2 separate regions of the Homo sapiens genome follow, and region 2 is linked to region 1. The links are contacts of gene promoters, found by promoter capture Hi-C in human tissues and cell types (Jung and others, 2019). All regions are on one chromosome and are shown on one strand. The core of a region is centred on a gene start or on the middle of the fragment in contact, and the rest is flanking DNA. Distances in the headings are between cores, read along the strand shown.

The links. The method cuts DNA at HindIII sites, captures the fragments that hold promoters and counts their contacts. A contact is called where the count stands out against the background at its distance.
Region 2: a contact is called between a fragment that was not itself captured here and the fragment with the promoter of GRM8 in region 1, in 3 of the 25 tissues and cell types used here (hippocampus, neural progenitor cells and psoas muscle).

What each region holds. Positions count from the first base shown.
Region 1 is chr7:127,251,326-127,254,871 of GRCh38, reverse strand. GRM8 (glutamate metabotropic receptor 8) reads left to right here and starts at 1,931. Exons shown (of 11, transcript NM_000845.3): 1 at 1,931-2,075. RefSeq lists a silencer at 664-723 and an enhancer at 844-1,093. The HindIII fragment of the contact is 12,389 bases long and covers 1-3,546 here.
Region 2 is chr7:127,190,386-127,193,944 of GRCh38, reverse strand. The region is part of intron 2 of GRM8 (glutamate metabotropic receptor 8); the gene reads left to right. Among named protein-coding and RNA genes, the nearest start is that of GRM8-AS1, 23 kb to the left of the region's middle. The HindIII fragment of the contact is 3,064 bases long and covers 309-3,372 here.

The DNA.
Region 1 (3,546 bases), core at 682-3,181:
CCACCTTCCTTGTCCCAAGTGGCACCGGACACTGATCACCCTCTTCAGAGCTGCACTAGACATTCACAGGGAATTGAGGTTCCCTATGCAGAAAGGTTTTCAGACAGAGGACCCAGCCCATTTTCTCTCTCCAAATCCTCCTCCCTCCCTCTTTTGTGGTTGCAGCTATAAAATAATGATTCAACAATCAAAGAGCCTCTCATGAGATGGGAGAAGGAAGGGAACGAAAGGGGAAGAGGTGCCCTGGGCTGAAAACCTGTAGATTTTTTCTAAGTGACAAAGGGCAAGGGTCCTTTTTTGAAATTAGGAGAGAGACAGCTGTTTCCTCAATCGAAACTTCGCACATTACAACCAGCCTTGGGAAAAGCCAACACCACCAGGGAGGAAGTGCTATGGGGTTTTGAAGCCAGACACTGATTTCTGGCTGTAATACTTTCCAGCCGTGTCTCTAAGCCTCGGCTTCTGCCTCCATCTGTAGAGTGGGCTTAATAATTTTGACCATCTCACAGAGTTGATGTGAAAATTAAAATAACCCGAACAGAACAGGCGATATATACAGGAATTAATGAAAGATTCCTGACATAATGCTTATAAGTTCATGATGCTTAGGAAGATAAAATTCATTGTAGAGATGCCGAACGGGGGTCTAGAGCTTGCCTTTTCGGGGTCTCTCCCGTCCTTCTCCATCCTCCTTATCTCCTGGGCTGCCCCCTCTCCCCCCGCGCCCCGCTCTCCCTGGCTCGCCCGGGCCTAGGGCGCCGCCTGCAGTTGCGCGCGGCCGCCTCTAGATGGAACTTTCTCACCAACGCAAGGCCCGGCCGGAGCAGCTACCCGGGAGCTGGGCGGCGAGGGGCTACTTTCTCTCATTCCGGCGGGTGCAGGATCGGGGGGCCTGGGCAGTAACTAGTGGGGAGGAGCGCTGGACTGTGCACGTCGAGCCCGGCAGGTTTCCGCATGCGGCATGCGAAGGGAATCCCGAGGTTTCCCTGCAGAACCCGAGCACGGCTCCCCCGGAGTTTCCTGCCCCGCGTCTGCGGCTCCTTGAATCATCTCAATAAAATGACCGTCCCGGTAGCCACCCATGCCCCTTCCTGCGCAGTGCCCGCAGCGGACCGCGCTGTGTGGTACCTCGAGCCCTGGGGACTCTGTTGCACGCGTCCCTCAGACCCTCGGGGGCGGGGAGTGGGGAGACAATCGCCAGAGCCGCGGGGCGGGACAAATGGCGGAACCGCCGCGCGGCGCCAGGCAAACTTTGCAAGGGAACCGCGCGGCTTGCCGGCTCTACTTTAAGCATTCCCGAAAAGAAAGCATGTGGCGGGACACTTGTCATCTACCATGTGTTATTCTCGGTGACGCTTTCTGGAGCTGTGTTCACCGGGGACCCGGGCTCGCGGGTGCTGCCCGCTGTGCTCGGGCGGGCGTCGCGCCTCCCCGCGCCGGTCCCGGGCTCGCCAGGCAGCCGGAGCCGCTGGGCTCCTCCACAACCATATTCCTTCTTCTACCGCTCCCGCTTCTTCCCACCCTCTCACTCTGTAGTTGGGTCCTCCCCTTTTTCTTGGGGGCGGGGAAGGGGGGATGATTTTTAAAAATCAGAACTATTGACATTTCTGGTCTCCTCGTCGCTTCAGGCTGAAGAGCGGAGGGGGATCCGCGGGCCGAGGGTCCCCCTCCCTGCCCGCGCCAGGGCCGCTGGGTGACACCGAAATCCAGAGGCTCCCGCCCCTCGGGGGTTCCTCCTCCCGCTTCCCGAGGTGACTGGTTGGCGCGAAGCGATTGGCGATCCCGGGCGCGATCCTGGCCGCGGCTCCCCGCGCCGCGCCGGGTGAATGGCCGCGGGCGGAGGATCGGGAGGCGCCGGGCGCAGACCAATCGCGGCCGCCGGTGGGAGTATTTGTTATTCACATGGAAGAGACTTGGCGCCTGCTAGGCCAGCTCAGCCCCCTCAGCCCAGAGATCAGCCACAAGTGCGGCCGCTGTGCTCGCCTCACGCGGCGGCGGCGGCGGCGGCGGCGGCGCTGACATGGAGCTGCGGGCCCCCGGCGGGCTTCCTCACCGCGCCCTCTGCGGGGAGCAGGGTAAGACTCGCCGCCCGGCAGCAGAAAGCGGCTCCGAGGAAAGCAAGTGCCGAACCACGGGACAAAAAGCCCCTGGCCCCCAAACTTCCCCAAAACGCCCTGCTTGTTGGAAAAGGAGAATCCCCCCGTTTTATTCCCCTTTCCGTTTTCTTCTCTAAAACCTTTCAGCGGACAGCCAGGTGCACCATTCCTTCTCATATCACTCTAGTGATTTGTTTTTCCTGAGCACAAGTAGATGGCCCTGCATGTCCGTAGTCTGTGAGAGAAATAGCGGGCGGAGGTGACGGGAATGGGGGGAGAAGGAGAGTGGGCACCAGGGGGCGAGGGGCTGGCCGGGCATTGGAGCTTGATTGGGTGTCTGTTGATTTTACGTTGCAAAGAACAAGGCAGCCACCCCTCTTGTCTGCCCATGATTACATTACAGTAAAGAGGTTCAGAAAAGAGGGAGACTTTACCCGGAACTCCCAAGGCTTGGAGATGTGATCCCCCAAAAGTTTAGTCGGCGAATGGGAGACTGAAGGGTGACGGGAAGGGGGCAGGCGCGCTCGGCGCTCTGACTGGGCGTGCGGCGGCAGGATTTTAAAGCGCTCTGCCTCGGATCGTCTGCCCTGGGTGACCTCCCGGACCTGCCCTGGTGGAATCCGGACTTGCCCCGCCGAGATGACGAGGTACCTTCGTTTCGCGAACCTAACAGGAGGGATTTCTGAAGTTAGCGGCTTCCGGGATGAGTCGGGGTAACCCCCGCCCTCTGAGCGTGGGCTGGATGGATGTCTAACCAGGATCTAGGGAGGATGGGGGTCGCGGGGGAAGCCGGGCGCTTCGGGGTCCTCGACACCCACATCCCCGCACGGCGCACGCTCTGCCTCGAGTTTGCGTTCTCCGAGTTAGCACGGCGAGCTTGGGATTTCCGTGCCCCTCTTTTGTGGCTTTCGAGAAACGCCGGAGTTCCGTGTCCTGCTGGGGGTTGGGGGGATGGAGAAAAGGTCTCGGGGATCTTGTTTAAAAAGCAAAGGCAAACGCACCCCAACAGCTCCTCGGTAGCTCCCGCGGCTGGCGCGGCCCCAGTTTCGGGCGGCCCCGCGCGGGGCGTGGGCGCGGGCGCTCGGGCGGCCAGGTGCGGCGGGGGCGGAGGCTGCATCCCCAGCGCGCCGGAATGCCCCGGGGCGCGGGAAAGGCAAAAGCAGCCTGGCGCTCTCCCCACGGCCCCAGTCTCTATCTACCCAGAACCCGGCTTCAACAGCCCAAGGAACTGAGAAGAAAAAGGAACCTGCGCTGGGAAACAGGGGCTCCTGGCGGGCTGAGTGGTCGCTGTTATGGTAGAGATAGAAACGGAGAGGTAGAGATGGACCGCTCAGCCATGCCAAGCGCGAAGCCCATCCGCCCAGCCAGAAAGCTCGGATATCCCTTGAGCTTCGTACAGTTGGTGAAAAAATAACAGAATCACCAAAAAAGAAAAAAAAATTCCCTTCGT
Region 2 (3,559 bases), core at 591-3,090, 61 kb after region 1:
AATTCATGTAATGACAGTGATTGAATGCTGATGCTTTTGGGATCTTATGTTGTATTTTTATGTTTGTTTTTGTTTTCTGATGCTTGGATCAATGATGAAAATGTTTCCTGAAAACAGATACTGCAGAAAGAGCTCTTTGGATGGGCTGGAATCTAAGTTTTAGAGATGCCAAAGCTTATGAAAGCAGTTTCCTAAACTGTGAGAGTATTTTTTTCCATCTTTTTCTGTCACTTGCAAGACTCTGTAACATTTGAGAAGGTGATTATTAGGATATGTTCCATAGCTACCGTTCTTGACCCAAAGTATTACCAATTGCTCAAAAGAAGCTACTACCTCACTCTTTAAGCCTCAGAAAGACTCAAAGCCTCTTGAAATGCCATGGGAGTCTTGCTGCAAATTAGAGTTGATATGAGAATTAACCGACCTCACATTTGCTTAGAAGCTTTGTCCTGCGGAGTTGACCTACCTGCTAGGGGATTCATTCCAATAAAGAAAAGTAGGTTTTGACCTAATTGGGTCATCCAGCAAATAAATGATATGAAAATTTCAAGCTTCACCACAGCCTGAAACATATGCTTGGGTCAATGGTGTAAACTCTCTCTTCCATTGACCAGCACTTTGATTGGACATTGATGGAGGTTATGGCTTTTACATTCTCATTTATGTTTGAAGGTTGTATGTATGATGATGTTGTGTTCTTTTGTCGAGAAGAAAAATATTAAAAATACCAACATGTATTAAAAGCATAAAAACAAATTTGTGTTATGCATTTACTTTGAGTAAGGCTCAATGTTAGCCACTTAGGAGCATAACTGGACATTCAAATATGGTTTTATCCTTAGAAAATGTGTAATCTATTAGGGAAACAGTGAATACTTACATAAGTCTTATGGTAGCTATATGGACAGTAGAGAAATTAAAAGTATTGTTTCTCTCTGGAGATCGCACTGACTTTGGATTTGGAGTACTCTAAGAAATTGGACCTTAAAAGATGAGTAAAATATAGGTGTGGAGAGGCTTGAAGGTGGGAAACATGAGATACCTTTAGGGGAAGGGGATAAATAGGTCAGTCTGGCCAGAGCAGGGTCAGAGTGTGCATACAGAAAGTGGGAGTGGGTGAAAGCAGAAGGTGTGGACTTGCTGTGTTCCAGCTTGATATCTCTTCGCCAACAAGGCTTTGGGCAGCTTCAGGCATGATTAGACATTTTGTTTTAATAACATGAAGAATGTAAGGATGGCAGCCCAGTCCTTGTACTTGCGTAGAACATGACCTTCATGTTCAGTGGTACCAGGGGTTCCTTTGCTGTGTACAACGTAAAGTGCTCCCTGGCTTGGAGTCATATATTTTTTATGTGTCTCAGACTTCTTTCCTTTGTGAGCCCTGATGGGCTCCCTGAGACTCGTGATAAAGCACAAACCTATCGGGTGAGAGCAGATATGTCATAAATTAACACACAGGAGCTCAGAGAGCTTTCTTTGGAATAGTCTAGAATCTGAGACCACAAATTGCAGTATCTCCCAGAAACAAGATTTTAGAGTTCATCTCCCTAGAGAAGTAACTTCCTCCACTCACACCCCTGCCTGAGGAATTTTAAACAACAATGACAAACTGCAAATGGACTAAAATTTAAACGAAGCTTTAGTATCTGTAACAAACTTTGGTTAGCTATTCAAAATAATGATGCATAATTTGGTAGCATAAAACATATGTTCTTCTTTTATGCATTTGCTCTGTTTACTTCCTCCAAGTTTTTATTTGAAAAGGTATTTCACATATATTCTGTGCCCCAGGTAGAATTTCTTAATCAGAATATTGTGTAGATCTCTTCATGTTGAGTTTACTTATAAGGTGGCAATACATTAATAGGAGTAGCAGTTGTTAAACACCATTTTACAAAAAAGGGGAGAAACGTGTTTCATCAGTTTGCTACCACAAATTGAAACATACATGCAAAACCAAGAGTTGTAATAAATATGACATAAGTTAACAGAGCATGGAAGATAGAAAAATGGAAAATGGTGTCCCTAAATCAATTTAATGCGGTACCAGCCCCAAATAAACAACAGATTGGGCCTCTTCAGCAAAACACCCTAGAAAAACGAAGCTTGTCAGAAATTCTTCACAGTATATTCTTCATCATATTACAGCAGAGATTATCTGACAGAATTAAGCAGAAAGTCAGTTATGAGAAATTTGTCCTCTTGGTAGCTAATGTTGAAAATATTATTTATATTAACAGGCAAAATAGGCTGGTAGTACACAAGCAATTTTCTAAATTTTATGGATGTGGTTCTGCCCATAAATCTGTGTGATGATGGCATATCTCTTATGAGACTACATTACCTTTCAGGTTACTATAATTGCACTGAATGAAGAGAATGTCCACTTGAAGATTAAGGCATCAGAGTGATAGTCACTAGCAGATAGACAGGAAAAAGGTCCTGGTCTTCAGCAACAAAAGAAACTTTCCAATTAGCTATAAATGAATATAATTTGAACACTGACCCCTTTTATATTCATTATATTCTCTGGAACTATTTCATTGCTAGAAGGTTAAGGGATTGAAATTAAAACACTCTCCTTTTTTATATGATAAAAACAATGTAGGTAGTTAAACTGTCAAATGCATTGAACCCAGAAATAGAGACTCTGACTTTTGTAGAGATGAAATGTAATTTCATTTCAGCATTCTTTCAATGTGACGCTTCTTCTGATATTGCAGAGTTATTTAGTCTTGGCCCTGATGTAAAGGAGTTGGCATTTCTAAAATATAAGCTTACATAATTGAATCAGATGAGAAATACAAATCTAGGAATCAGAATCTAATACTTTTCATTTTGTCAAACCTGTTAAATGAGAGTATTAAATTTAAAATACTGAAATAATTTTTTAATCTATTCATAATCCTTGTTATATCAGATAGGATATTTTAATTCTCCTCTGTAAAAATTGGAAAAATGTACTGTTGTCATAGACTTACATAAACGTTCAAAGCTTTTAGTAGCTCATAAAAGTGTTTTACCAGACCATTTGACTAAAGAATACCCATAGAAGAAAGAAATCAATTCATTCACAGCATGATTTTTTTTACCTCAAGCTAATATTTAACTAATTATAATGACAATAAGAATGAGTTAAAAAAATAATGTCTGAGCTAGATATTTATTAGAAAAAATAAGCACTGTCTTTTAGTTTGGTTACTTCAGAATCTATAAATATGCATGGGTTCCATCTTTGCAATTCATAAATTCATAATACTCTGCTTTTTATTTTTATGTAAATATACCTGGGGTAGACTGCATCACTGGTCTTAATTCTCCATCTCTCCCTGTACCACTTCCTTTGCCATTTAACTTTACAGTTCATTTCCACTGAGGGCAGGACATTTTTTTTTTTTTTTAAGACCGAGTCTCGCTCTGTCGCCCAGGCTGGAGTGCAATGGCACGATCCCGGCTCACTGCAACCTCTGCCTCCAGGGTTCAAGCAATTCTCCTGTCTCAGCATCCTGAGTAGCTGGGACTACAGGTGTGTGCCACCACACCTGGCTAACTTTTGTAT